3 separate regions of the Homo sapiens genome follow, and all the other regions are linked to region 2. Evidence: promoter capture Hi-C in 16 types of primary human blood cells and fetal thymus (Javierre and others, 2016). All regions are on one chromosome and are shown on one strand. The core of a region is centred on a gene start or on the middle of the fragment in contact, and the rest is flanking DNA. Distances in the headings are between cores, read along the strand shown.

What was found. The method cuts DNA at HindIII sites, captures the fragments that hold promoters and counts their contacts. A CHiCAGO score of 5 or more calls a contact.
Region 1: a contact is called between a fragment that was not itself captured here and the fragment with the promoter of CHSY3 in region 2, in 1 of 17 cell types (endothelial precursors). The highest score is 6.2, in endothelial precursors.
Region 3: a contact is called between a fragment that was not itself captured here and the fragment with the promoter of CHSY3 in region 2, in 1 of 17 cell types (M1 macrophages). The highest score is 5.0, in M1 macrophages.

What each region holds. Positions count from the first base shown.
Region 1 is chr5:130,704,205-130,708,799 of GRCh38, reverse strand. No RefSeq gene overlaps it. Among named protein-coding and RNA genes, the nearest start is that of HINT1, 460 kb to the left of the region's middle. The HindIII fragment of the contact is 3,590 bases long and covers 51-3,640 here.
Region 2 is chr5:129,901,664-129,906,460 of GRCh38, reverse strand. It overlaps CHSY3 (chondroitin sulfate synthase 3), which reads right to left and starts at 1,996. Exons shown (of 3, transcript NM_175856.5): 1 at 830-1,996. The coding sequence starts at 1,631. It overlaps CHSY3-AS1 (CHSY3 antisense RNA 1), which reads left to right and starts at 534. Exons shown (of 3, transcript XR_002956248.2): 1 at 534-619. RefSeq lists a silencer at 1,629-1,838. The HindIII fragment of the contact is 4,826 bases long and covers 1-4,228 here.
Region 3 is chr5:130,883,339-130,888,017 of GRCh38, reverse strand. No RefSeq gene overlaps it. Among named protein-coding and RNA genes, the nearest start is that of HINT1, 280 kb to the left of the region's middle. The HindIII fragment of the contact is 1,569 bases long and covers 785-2,353 here.

The sequences.
Region 1 (4,595 bases), core at 596-3,095, 800 kb before region 2:
AGGCAGCATATGAAGAATCTTGGAAACCTGAAAATAAGTGATTAAAAGCTTGCTGAATAATAGTTATTTTTAAAATGGAGAATGCCTGAAAAAGCAAAGATCTCTCTAGTTTCACCAAAATGGGCAGAGTCAATAGGATTCTCTATGTTTATTTAAATGTAAATGTGAAGGTGATAGAAATGAAGATCTAAAGCAATGGTAGGAGAGAAAGGTTATGGGACACAATCGGTAATTATAACTAACAATCACATAAATTGAAATGGGTAATTTTACAGGCTTCTGAAAAGATTTAAAAGGATGGATTGTTGCATAAGCCGAAGGTAAAAATGACTGGGCTAATGTCTTTGGTCCCCTTTAAGAGTAAAAGCATTCCTAAGAGCAAAATGTAGTGATAAAAAAACAATGATTTTGTGGAATGTTCTGTATGAATATCCACATGTTCATGGTACTTTGCAGGTCACCACATGATTAACATTTAATGTTCACAACAATGCCAGTTCTTGCCCTCTCTATTTTTAAGGTGGGGAAACTGAGGCTTAGACCTGTTAGACAACTTTCCCTGGATCACGCAGCTGGTAGGTGGAAGTACCAGTATTCAAACACAGGTGGGCCATATTCTGAGGTCTGATTTCTTAACGAAAATGTTGCCTCAACTGTATAACCTAAAACCAAGGTAGGAAAGAAAATGGCAACCTGTGTGATTGCAGTGATCTTTTGTTGTGTTTTTAAAAAGAAGATTCCTTACATACCATATTCAAACTTCAATAAATCTTAAAGAAAATTTTGTCAGTCCTCATTCCATAGACAAGGAACATAATTCTCAGAGAACGGAAGGAACTAGCTCAAGTATGTCATTGGTTTTTGTGGGATGATAACCCCAATCATTCCACTGGCACAACCTCGACTCCTAAATTCAACTCTCTACTCTCTGTTCCCACCCACAAATTATCTTCCCCACTGATTTCTCACAAGACTTCTAATTCTTTTGTATTAAGGTACTGTGTATTCAGAAATCCTCCACTAACATGCGATTGTGTTGCCCAGAGGGAATATCACTATTGTTATTGTTTTTCTCTGGGTTTTCTTCAGACAGCTTCTTTTCGACTATCCAGCAGAAAGGAGCAGAGGAGTAGGTTCTGGACCAATTCTAACCCCCTTACTCACAGATGTTCTGCCTTGGGAAAAAAAAATATACAGTTGCTCTCTCAATGGGCAGGTTATTTGTGTTCCAAATTGTTCATGAGCATTAAGAACATTGTAGATTAATGAATGGTAGTATCTTAAGTGCAGGCATTGTACTATTTGGTGTATATGTTAATATTGAAGAGATTTTTGTTGTTGTTTTTACAAACTATACAGGTGAAGGTTCATCCTAGTCAATCTCTCTTGGTGACAGTATAGGGAACTGGAGCATTCATATTCAGAGAAAACTCTGAAATGAGTCCACAAAGAATTCTGCTTTCCAAGGACACAGAACCCTGTAATTTGAAGGCGAGTATAGAAAGTTGTGAAGCAAGTGACATATACCATTGATTTCCTCTGGCATCCTTATGCTTTCCAAACTTCACTGCACTCCTAAAGTTGTCTTTTTTTCTATTGTGGCTGAGGATTGCATCCATATACCTAGTAAAAACTCATGCTGTCAAAAGGAGAGCTGCTCACTGTGAGACTCTTTCATTAGGCTTTTTGGATAGACAAAGGCATTTCCTGATCAATGAAACATCTTGACAAACAATTCTGACGTATATAACAAAACTTTCATCACAGTCAAAACCAGAGGGGGACGATTCAACTTTTACTGAAACTGCATCAAGGAATTAGCAATTTAGCATTTTTCTTGAACTACTGAGGTGAAATAATTTACATGATGAGCAAAGGAGTAGCTTAAACAATGCTCTCCCTTAGGAACTATGAGCGCCAACAATACTGCAAAAACAATACGTACTGACTCATATTTCTGCAGATTCCAGCATAGTAGATTTCTTCATAATCAAAATGCAATTGAATCGTTATACCTCATGTTACTCTACAGATGCCTATGAATTATTTTCTGCTACCAGGAAATTGTTAAATAGTCTAAAGCACTGTGATTTTGCACTCATCTTTCATAGCTATTCTTCAGGGAGAACAGGGTCTTGGCTTCCTTTGGAGGCAGCAAGGCTCAGGCACTGAGTTCTGTGTTTGTGGTTCTCCTGAGAGCTGCCTCTGAGGAGCTGTGAAATTATCCCCACCTATTCCTAATTTGAAGAGTAAAAGCCTCATTGTTGATTTCACATCTTTTACATTGGCTAGGGCACGGCTTTATCAGAGTGTGCTCTCTTCCTCAGTATGTTGGAATAGTGGGGTAGGAAGAGAGAGGTTAGAAGAGGAAAATTGCATCAGTAATTGCAAGTATACCATATGAGTGTACGCTTTATTTCTTCTCGTAGTTTAAAACAACTTCTTACTTTAGTTTCTCTTATTTTAAGTACAAATCCACAAGTTTGCCTTCATCCTATTGCAGATGTGCTTAGGGCAATTAAAGGACCCCATCTGAAAGCAAAGAGTATAAATATAGGCACTTACAGACAAAAAGTGTATAATTGTTTTTTGTGATTCAGGTAAAGAGGAATAATTTGCCTTTGAAAAAAATCTCAATCTCACTGTAGAGTGTACTTAATAAATATTTTTTTCTTTCTTCTATTATTCCTTTTTTCTTTTATTTAAAAATGTTTTATTTCCCTCCTTATGATGAGTCATCGGCCATAAACTATTATTTTATTTTATTACAAGTTATTATACATGTTATTTATATAAATGGCAATAGATTAAAAACTCTACATATATAATTAAAATCTTGCTGAATAATCAAGATTCTGAAGACTTTTATTTCCAAAGTAAGGAAAACTGAACAATTTGAAAAATCTTGGTCTAGAATTCATATAACTATAGCTTTGGGATCACAACCCCTGATTTTTAGAAACTTTTCCCTGCTTTCTTTTCACAATCTTTTACCACTTCCTTCTACATCAAGCTGGCCTTTTATTTTAATGGGTTTTCCAGAGGGAACTCAGTGAAATAGAGGCAAATATTATTGGACATGATTTTAGTTGACAACTTCGCAGTATTGGTGTACTTTATGTTGTTACCTAATAGAACAAGAATAGTCAATTTAACAAGGTTTTTCTATATTATTTCATTTTAATATGGAAAAACCTGTGACTCATTACCAAGGTTTTGGGTAAATATTAAACCAAGGAGGCAGGAGGCAGTTAAAGAGGTATGGATTCTGGTTTTGCCAAGATGGTGAAATAACACGAATTGCAGGCTCTATGCCTCAACATAAACTTTGGAGAAATTATAGAAGCAAAAGGAAACTATGGATTCATGAAACTAACAAGGGAGAAATCTCCTGGAAGACAGAAGACTGTCTGTGAACTGGTTTGCACAGGATAGTTGGTTTGTAGTAGCCTGGGGCACAACAAGGCAGAAGTGGTAAATGAGAGAATGAGGGAACAACAGTGGATCTCCAATGATGTCCTCAGATCAGGAGCATCAGCATCACCTGGGATCTTACTGGAACTGTAAACTATTGGCTTATCCCAGACATACTGAATAAGAAACTCAGGGTAGGGCCCAATAATCTGTGTTTAAACAAGCTTTCCAAGTGATTCTCATACATGCTAAAGTTTGAGCAGAGAAAGGGTTTTATTTTTATTTATTTATTTATTTATTTATTTTTTATTATACTTTAAGTTCTAGGGTACATGTGCACAATGTGCAGGTTTGTTACATATGTATACATATGCCATATTGGTGTGCTGTACCTGTTAACTCGTCATTTACATTAGGTATATCTCCTAATGGTACCCCTCCCCCTTCCCCCCACCCCACAACAGGCACCGGTGTGTGATGTTCCCCTTCCTGTGTCCAGGTGTTCTCATTGTTCAATTCCCACCTATGAGTGAGAACATGTGGTGTTTGGTTTTTTGTCCTTGCGATAGTTTGCTGAAAATGATGGTTTCCAGCTTCATCCATGTCCCTACAAAGGACATGAACTCATCCTTTTTTATGGCTGCATAGTATTCCATGGTGTATATGTGCCACATTTTCTTAATCCAGTCTATCATTGTTGGACATTTGGCTTGGTTCCAAGTCTTTGCTATTGTGAATAGTACCACAATAAACATACGTGTGCATGTGTCTTTATAGCAGCATGATTTATAATCCTTTGGGTATATGTCCAGTAGTGGGATGGCTGGGTTAAATGGTTATTTCTAGTTGTAGATCCTTGAGGAATTGCCACACTGTCTTCCACAGTGGTTGAACTAGTTTACAGTCCCACCAACAGTGTAAAAGTGGTGTTCCTATTTCTCCATATCCTCTCCAGCACCTAGTTTCCTGACTTTTTAATGATTGCCATTCTAACTGGTGTGAGATGGTATCTCATTGTGGTTTTGATTTGCATTTCTCTGATGGCCAGTGATGATGAGCATTTTTTCATGTCTGTTGGCTGCATAAATGTCTTCTTTTGAGAAGTGCCTGTTCATATCCTTTGCCCACTTTTTGATGGGGTTGTTTGATTTTTTCATGTAAATTTGTTTCAGTTCTTTGCA
Region 2 (4,797 bases), core at 747-3,246:
ACAAAATGCACTGGAAAGGAACCAATACTAGTGTGTGCTAGTACAGTCTGCTGTTCCCAGGGGTCTGGCTTATTAGCGGGTGCTTTCCTCTTTTCCCCCACCACCAATTCCTTACAACATGCCCATCCTCTCAGGGTTTTATTGAGGTGTGGCGGGGGGATGGGGGACGGCTTGGTGCTGAACTGTAGCGGCTGGAAGGAGCAGCGCGCTGGCACGGTGGGGATGGCCAAGGACTCCCAGTATGTGGAGAGTTGAGCCAAAGGGAAGGGAACACATAGGAAAGGGTCCGGGACAGCGAAGACGATTCCTCAATCTGAGCAGTTCCAAAAGTGCGCTAGATCCAGTTTAAACAAAAGAGCAAGATCCAAAGCCAGAACACTGGATCTCCAGACTAGTTGTAGCTAGCATCCTCCGTCTTCCCTTCCTGAAGACCACGCCCCTCTGGACCGATTGGGGAAACTACCATCAGCAGGGGCTTTCAGAGGAGGGCAGAGTGGGAATGGCCTTTGGTTTAGCTCTAAGGTTCCTTTTCTAACCTCTCCGACGAGGTAAAGACTAAGGGACAAGCGCGAGGCGGCACCGAAAACAGCAAGTGAGGAAGGCGAATAAAGCCAGGCAGGTGTGAGGAGGGTCCAGATTGCAGAAGACGAGGAACGGGCTACGAATTGTGGGCGGATGCAAGGGGTGGGGAGGGCGGGCCAGGGCCTGTGGGAGCCCGAAGCACGTGCTGGCAGAGAAGCAGCGGAGGGGCTGGGCAGGGGCTAGGACCGGTTACAGAGAAAGGAGTCGGGGAGACTGGCAGGCTGGAAAGCCGGCGCAGGGAGGTCACCTTTGATGTAGACATCGTCGTCGGCGCGCATGAACCACTCATACTTGTCCAGGTAGTGGTCGTGCATGTACTTGATCATCATGAAGGACTTTTTCTGGGGAGGATAGGAGTCGTCCACACCCGGTAGCGCGATGACAGGCAGGGGTGGCGGGGGCTGGCCGGCGTTGGGGGGCTGCTGGCTGGAAAAGAACTCCACGCGGCCCGGGATGAAACGCGCCCAGGTCCGCTGCGCGGCCAGCGCGCGGCTGCCCAGGTACTTCTGCGCGGTCATCACCCCCACGTACAGGAAGTCCCGGGGTCGGGCGCTCGGGGCGGCAGCGCCCCCGTCCCCGCTGCCGTTGTGGCTACTCCCCGGCCGGCCGTCTCTCCGCTGCCCAGCCGCGCCCCCGTCCTCCTCCTCGGGCTCCCCCTCGGCCGCTGGAGCACCGGGAAGCCCCGTCGCGCCCTCAGGCTCGCGTCCTCGCCGCCGCTGCTGCAGCGGAGGTGGCTGCTGCCAGGGGCTGCTTCGAAAACTGGTGATCCCGGGTGCTGCCTCGGGCAGCGGTGGCCCCTGGAGATCCTGGCGCGCGGGGGGCGGCGACTGCTCCTGCCGTGGTCGGGACTGGGGCTGGGGGAGCGGCTGCTGAGCGCCGGCGCGGGGGCCAGCAGCAGAGCGACCGTAGTAGGAGCAGAGGCTGGAGCCACGTCTCTTCCTCTCGCTCAGCTCCGCCACCCTGGGGGCGATGAGCCAGGACGCGGCGGTGAAGCCCAGCACCAGCCCTAATGCCACGCTCATCCACGGGCGGCGAGAGCGCACAGCCATCGCGGCTGTCCCGGGCGCGGACGCTCGCTGGGCTGTCGCGGCGCGGCACGCGGTTTCCCCGGCTCACACCCGCCCCTCCTCCGCCTTTGCGCCCCCAGCCGCGGCCGCAGCCGGCCGCCTAGGCGCCGACACCGGCTGGAGGTCGAAGCGCCGCGGACGCCTCGACTGCCGCGGGCTGCAGCTGCCTGCCGGGCTCCCGCTCAGCTCTGGGCCGGGGCTCCGAGCAAGGGTCGGGAGTGAAACTTCTCCCGGCGGCGGCGGTGGCGGCAGCGGCGGCAGCAGCGGCAGCTGGAGGAGCTGCAGGAGGAGGAGGAGGAGCAGCGGCGGCGGCAACGCGTCCGCTCCTAGGCTGCCACCCTGTCAGTGGCGCGCCTGGGCCCTCCCTCCTCCCTCCTTCCCGAGCCCCCGCCCTCACTCCCGCCTCCCGCTCCCCCCGCCGCCGGGCTCCGAGCTGGCCCGGAGGAGGAGCCGCAGGCGGCACCGCTGCCAGCCGGAGAGAAGCGCGGGCCGCGGTATTTCCCCGTCACCCGCCCTTGGACGCCCCCCGTCCGCGCCTCAGTCCAGAGCCGGCCTCCTCTCCGGAAGGAAACGATCCCTGTCGGGCCGCCTCCGGCTTGCAGCGCCGACGCCCCCTCTTCCCTCCTCCCCCAGCTCTTGCTCTTCGTCCCATTTCCCGTCCCGTCCCGCCCCTCCGCTGGCCTCCCGACACTCGTGTCTGGGGGCTCTACTGGCCTCCTCCCGGCGCCTAGGCTCCGCTGACCTCATCGGCGGAGCTCGGGTCCGGGAGCCCCCAGCAAGTTCGTTGCTGTCCCACCGTGCTCTCCTCCCCCGGCCCACAGCCGGGTACGTCCTGGCGTGACCCTTACCACTCTGCCCCGCCCCAGGTCCGCCAGGGCGCCACTCTTCGCGTTTTCCGTCCTTTCCACGTTGTTCTTACCGCTGCCACTCCGCGCCTTCTCTCTCTAGTCGGTCACTTGTCAGGAAACCAAACGTCCCATCCCAGCACCTCTCCTCCCAGCCTAACTTCCCTCCTACCTGCATCGTCCACCAGCTCTCCTCAGTCCTTCACAGAAGCACCATTGTCGTTAGGGTCTCTCCTAAGAAAATCTCTGAGGGATTGGAAATACTTATCCTGAAAGGCTAAGGGAGTTGGTGGTGTGTGGGGGTTCAATCCCCAAAGAACGTAAAAATCCCATGTCCTCCACCTGTTGAGTTGGAAAATGTGGGGCTGCCTAATGGTCTCCCCCTCGGCTCTCCTGATGATATCTGTTCAAGAAATGAGAACTATGGTCTATTTTCAGTCTTGGTAGAAGATTGGCTCAGTGGGACTGGCAAATAGTGGAGAAATGGGCACACATTCACAGGGCCAATACCCTGAAGATCCAAACGAAAGAAATTCTTACCCCCACAAAATAAGTGAACTTAATCAAAAAATAAAATGGAGGATATGATTTTTATTCTTGCCTATGAACCGTTTTATTTTCTAAGGCAAAGACAGGAAAATTTTACCTCTCCAATGAGGGAGGAAAATTGTCCAGCAACAGAATCTCAAAAAAAGTTAAGCTGTATTGGCCAAAATCATTGTGCCTTAGTTACGTTAGGAAGAAATTACCTGAAGGTATATGATTTTTGAAGAAGGGAGCATTAACAAATTTCTCTCTAAAGGTTGTGCATAAAGCTATAGTCTGGGGTGCATTTGGCATCCCAAGTACTTCCTTCTCTTCAAATTTCAGTCTTCTGTTTTAGACATCAAACGCAAAGGGATGGTATTGAATGGCATTAGACATAATGGCTCGATCCAGCGAGGTGCTGGCAGCGTCCCTGGAACACTAGGCCTGCCTGGAGCCTTTGGAGGAATGGTTCTTTCCACACCGGTCCCTGGCTGTGCATGAGCACGTCTGACTAAATGTTTCATCTGCTGGACAATGAAGCTCCTTTTCCATGTCTAGGTTTTTCCCAGAGACACTTGGGAATACAGATTACTGGGCTCTCTCAAAGTTAAATTTTAGTTAGAATACAAAGCTAGTCAAACAGGCCCCTTCTGATTTTTAAATCGTCAAAGGCATTTTAAAATTTCTAGAATAGTACTATTCAATAGAACTTTCGCTATAATGGAAATTTTTTTTTATTTGTGCTGATAAGACAGTAGCCACATAAAATTATGGAGCATTGAAAGGTGACTAGTGTGATTGAAGAAATGAATTTTCATTTTATTTAATTTTAATTACTTTTTATTTAAATAGCCCCATGTGGCTAGGGGTTACCATGTAGGACAGCACATTTACAGAGGATTTCCTATTGCATATGGTCAACAGTAAAGGACAAATAAGTCCACCTACACACCAGTACCCTCTCCCCTGCAGTATTCAACTGGGCTTTATGGTAATGGATGCCATTCATATTGTTGATCTACAAAATCATTAATTCTCATTGGGCATAAATAACCCAATTCATCAACTGTTTGGAATATTTGGAGAGGAAGTTAATTTCATTCACTTATTCAACAAGTGTATATTAGAGATTAAACATTAGACAAGGTGGAAGGCTCTGGACATGGAGATGTCAACAAACTATTCAGTGCTTCCCATCATGAAGCTTATAGTGCATTGAAGAAGACACATTAAACATCACACTAGGAAATGAATTACAATGGTGATAAATGATATGAATAGAAATACAGAGTACTCTGAGAATATTTATAAGAGCATCTAATTTAGTATGGGAGTCAGGGAAGGCACTAGAAAAGATTCAGATAAAATGAAATCATTGAAGTGATATTACATATGAGACAAGTGACCTTGGGCAAGTTGTGAAAATTCTAAGTTTTTGATTTCTCATCTGTAAATTCATTTCTGTGAGGCTTTATTAATATACTATATGAAGTGCTTAACATAATGTTTAGTTCATTGTAAACACTTGGGAAATGTTCTCATTTTCTAATCCCTTCCCTTATGCTAAAACGTCTCTCTCATGGTATCTATCATCTTATTTTTATTACATTTCATCTTTTCATTTATTTAACAGATACTTATTTAGTATGTACTGTGAGGCAGACACTATCACTGAGAAAAAAAACGTAGACAAAACAAAGTCCTGACTTCATGGGACTTGTATTCTAAGAGGAGATTACACACACACACACACACACACACACACACACACACGC
Region 3 (4,679 bases), core at 320-2,819, 980 kb before region 2:
TTTACTTTCTTTAGAACTCATTGAAGCCTCAGATTCCTCAGAACTGGCTTGCTCCATGTACTGAGAACATGACACATGGCACATTAGCTACAGGACGACATGCTGATTTATGCATTTATGGTTTTGTTTAATCATCTATCATCACTAATTGTCAGAGATAAAGGTTTATTGTGTTTCTGTGACTTCCCGATGTGTTGTTCTCTTTTGCTTTTATGATCTTAAAAACATTGAGAGTACTTTTTTTTCCTCTTTCGTTTAATTTTTCTTATTGTCACCTTGTGCACATTAGCTGTGGTTAATTAAGAAAGGCGGGGCATTATGTAACTAAGGCATCCAGCTTATCTAATTTTCTCCTTCATTATAAACAAAAACAAGAAGCTCAACTAAAAAAAGAAAAGAACCTATTATACCTCTTCCCAGGTGTCTGCATTTATTAGAAGAAATTATTTCTAACAGAATGGGGGAGAGAGATGAAAACATATTTTTGGATGATTGGTTGGGAAAACGTACGACCATCTCTTGTTGGAGAGTATATTAGCAATCACAGCTGTTCATTAGTGGTCAGGCTTGAGTAATTAAGAGATTAATTAGAAGAGGAGATAAAAATGTGTTCACATTCTAAGAATAAAAATCACACTAATGAATAAATAAATACATTCTGATGAATAAATGAACACATTTATGCTTTAATATATCTGAATTTCACTGTCAAGTTCTGCAGATAATCTCCAAGCATTTATTAATAATAGATACATCACATAGATTGTATTCAAAGCAAAAAGCTTTGTATTGTATTCAATCAAAATGAAAAAGCTGCTCTGTAGTTCCACATTGCAAAGAGTGCCATCAGTCACATCCCCATAGCACTGGGAAGAAAAGACAGCTTCAGTTTCATTATCACACCTGACATACCTCTTTACCTGTCTATGATCCATCTAGATAAAGAAAATAAAAGGATCTTTGAGAAAACTGAGTTATCAGTCTGTGAGAGAGTGCTGTAGATTCTCCTTTCTTTTTTTTGGGCAAAAAGAGAGTAGGTTATTTTGATTTAAGCCAAATGAAGGAGTGACACTCCAAGAGATCTACTCACAGAGCACAGAGACTGGGAGGGTCTGAAGAAGGAGGTGTGAGTGGCACTGAATTGAAAGTTGGATGTTTGCTTATGCGGTGGGTTTGAAATCAGGATGTGGAAAATGTGAGACTAGGGGAAAGAGAGTTGAGCATTAGGGAAGTCACAGCTCCAGTGTTTAGTAGGTAAAGGACGATTCTCTCACGGACTAGTTGGGCACTGTGAAAGGTAACCGGGCTTCAGCCATGTTGCTGGAAGCAAAAGATCATGGATTATATGTCTGAGGGGTGGGAAGTCAGGGTGGATTGGGTGAGGTCTCTCTGAGTAGATTGTCTACATCAAAGAACTGAGTGTTCTCTGTGGGGCTTCCTGAAGAGTCTGCACATACTCTTACATGTGTGATAGTGGGACCTTGAACATCTGTGACATAGAAAGCATCAACCATCAAGGAGCATGAGCAGCAGCACCAGGGAAGTCAGAGGCATTCTCCCCTTTCCTCCTGTATTCACTAAAGTTCCAAACCATGGAGAAGGGGCAACCCAGAAAAGGGAGGGGGAGGAGGGAGAGAAGTGGAAGAGCTGACACTGTCACTCTCCAAGTGCTGGCCAGTCCCAGCAGGGAAAGATTAGAGCATTAAACTGCACTTGAGGGTTAAGTTTTAAACTGTTTTTAATGTTACTAGACTGGTTTGTTTTATAACTGAAATTGACTATGGAGTTTTCCATTCTGTCTGAAATGTCTTTAAAGGGAAGGCAAAGGAGACTTGATATAATTCATTGAAGAATAAAGGTTGGAAAGAAACAAAAATTCTTCTCATGGCTGTACTCCATTGAGTCAGACCGTTCAATATAGCCATGAGGAACTGTATGGTCTTATTCCTGATCATTTCTCTATTTTCATCTTCTAACATAATCTTCTGAATTCCGATCACTTTACTTCTACTGGTGCCAAGGTCTCTCCCATCTTAGACTGCTGTTCCCTCTGCCTGGAAGATTCTTTCCTGGATCTTCACAGCACTGGCTCCTGTTTCCCTCAGCTCAAATATCACTCTCTTAGAGAGGTATTTCCTGACTGCTGTTTAATGTCGTGAGCCTCCCTTGTGCAGTTACTTCATCTCATTACCCTGTTTATTTCCCTCATGCTATTTATCACCATCTCTAATTATTTTACTTACTTGTTTGCTTGTTTATTGGCATTGTGTCTGTCTATTTTACCTCTGTATGTCCCAGTGCCTGGGCTATAACCACTCAGTGAACGTGGATTAATGAATGAATGAAACAAGCTTCAATAATTCAAGATAACCTTAAGGTTATCTGTAAACAAGCAGAAAAAAAAACCCAATTGCTATGTAACCCTCTTCCAAATGTAAACTGGTGGCTAATGACATAATTAATTGGGGCTCTAGCTTAAGGCTTTTCACTGTAGGGAAACAGATGTTTCCATAAGTTCTGGTTTCCTTGTGACAAAATCATTCCCTTTAGAAAGCAAAATGAAATACTAATTTGTGTTTACTATGTATTAGATACGTTAAATATTTACTCATTTACTGCTACAAACTCTTTAAGGTCAGCATCGCAATTTTGTAGATTCAGAATCTAACTATTTTATAGAATTGGAATCTAAGGCTTCCAATGAGAACGTAACTAGTAATTTGTTGTGTCAGTACTGCATGCAAGCCTGTTTGGCTCCAAAGTCCATGGTCTCCCTGGAACATTGTATTACTTTCCATCATAAAAATCTCAGGCCACTAGTGACATCATTCATGACATTACTGGTGACTTTATGGACTTGAGATGCCCCTAACTCACTGTTTATGACTTTGGCTACAGAATCAAGGGCTCATTATAACAAAGTCTTGGAGTTGTTTATCTTGTTTTGCATGTATTGTTTGGACAGAACCTTAAAGCCCTAAAGAATATAAACTGTAGAATCATCTTTCACTGATTGTCTAAGACAAGGATTGTCTGTGCAAGTGATTTACTGGGAAGTGTTTCTAGGAGAAACTGTTAAGGGTGTGAGGGAGGTAGGACAGAGCAAGGCAGAAGCCAAGTAAGGGGCTAGTTTCAGGCAAAGTCCTGGGGAGGGTGTAGTGAATTCCTGCAGCGGCATTGCTGAGTAGAAGATGCATCTCAGAATTGTCTTGACCTGAGGGGAGGAGATGGGCTTCCATATTTCCCTGCCAGTCCTGCGCTAGAGGAGGAAGGTAGGGAGGTACAGAGGTAAACTTCTAGGTGCTTCTGGCTCCCTGCTATTGCAGCCCAAGCTGTGCCAGGACTCAAGAGCACCTAGTGGAAGACAGTCCTGCATAGAGAACTTTGGAGGTAAAAGCACATCAAAGCCCGAGGAAGGGTATGTGGGGATGGCAGAAGCGGTCCTGGGGAATTGGGGAAGCACCAATCAGTGCCCACTATATTGATCATAGCTATTTCATTTTAAAGGAAAAATTAAATGTCCTCTTGTACAATAAAAAATGGAAGGTTTATATTTGGTCATGATTGGGCTATTTAATTTAAGCTCTAGTGATAATTCGTCTCAGCTGGATATTTTTAAATGAAGGTAGAGAGTGACATGCTGTTTGCCAAGTTGGCTTTCAGTGGAAATGGCATGTGGTTCTAGTTGAGGCCTGGAGCCATAGGGAACAAGGCATCAGAAAATGCATTGGTCACTGATTTACACACATTGACTGCCCTCTGACTCTGTCTTTATTGTCTCTTCGGCCCTAAACCTCAGCACATTTATTGCTGCAGAGGCCAAATGTTCTTAAGGCAATCTATGGGGTGCCTTTCTTTCTGGCTGCTTCTTTATACTGAGAACCTTTGTAGTTCTTTCATTACTCACAGTTAGACTTCATTTCTGTTCTGCAGTTTTCTGATCCTCCCTATCAATTCCTTCCTTTGACATGCTGGCAGAATTTGGCTCTCTTATTCTTTAGCTCTTCCTGTCTTGTGTCTCTGTGTGTGTTTAAATTACCATTGTGCCCTTATTTTTATTGAAAGAACTTAAAATGACAACTCTGATAGTGCATCAACTTACTTTTATTTCTTTATGTTCCTTCCCAAATTCAATACTTTCATTTTTCCTTTTGTGTATAAATTACTCTTTAATAGCTTCAGTTTAATTTACTTTCAATTTTTGTTACAGCTCAAATTAATTTAATAAGAGGAAAACCTAAAAGAAATTTAAGTACAGTGGAATCCAATTCATGGTTATTTGTCAGGGTTGAATTCAATTTACAATAGTTTTCCAGAAGTGATTCCTTATGTCAGAATAAAGGTAATAATAACATTGTAAATATTTTCATATGTATTTTGAAAATTATTGACTAAGCAGTAAATGCTGAATTTACTCATGTTGCTTAATTTTTTGTGTCAACTTGGTTGACGCATGGTTCCCAGATATTTGGTCAAATGTTATTCTGGATGTTTCTGAAGGTGTTTTTGAGTGAGACTAACATTTAAAGCAATGGCTTTTGAGCACAGTAGATTACCCTACATAATGTGGGTGGGCCTCATCCTGTCAGCTGAAGACCTTCATAAGCCAGACTGACCTCCCTTGAGCAAGAGGCAGTTGCCATCAGACTGCCTCTGAACTCAAACTGCAACTCTTCCCT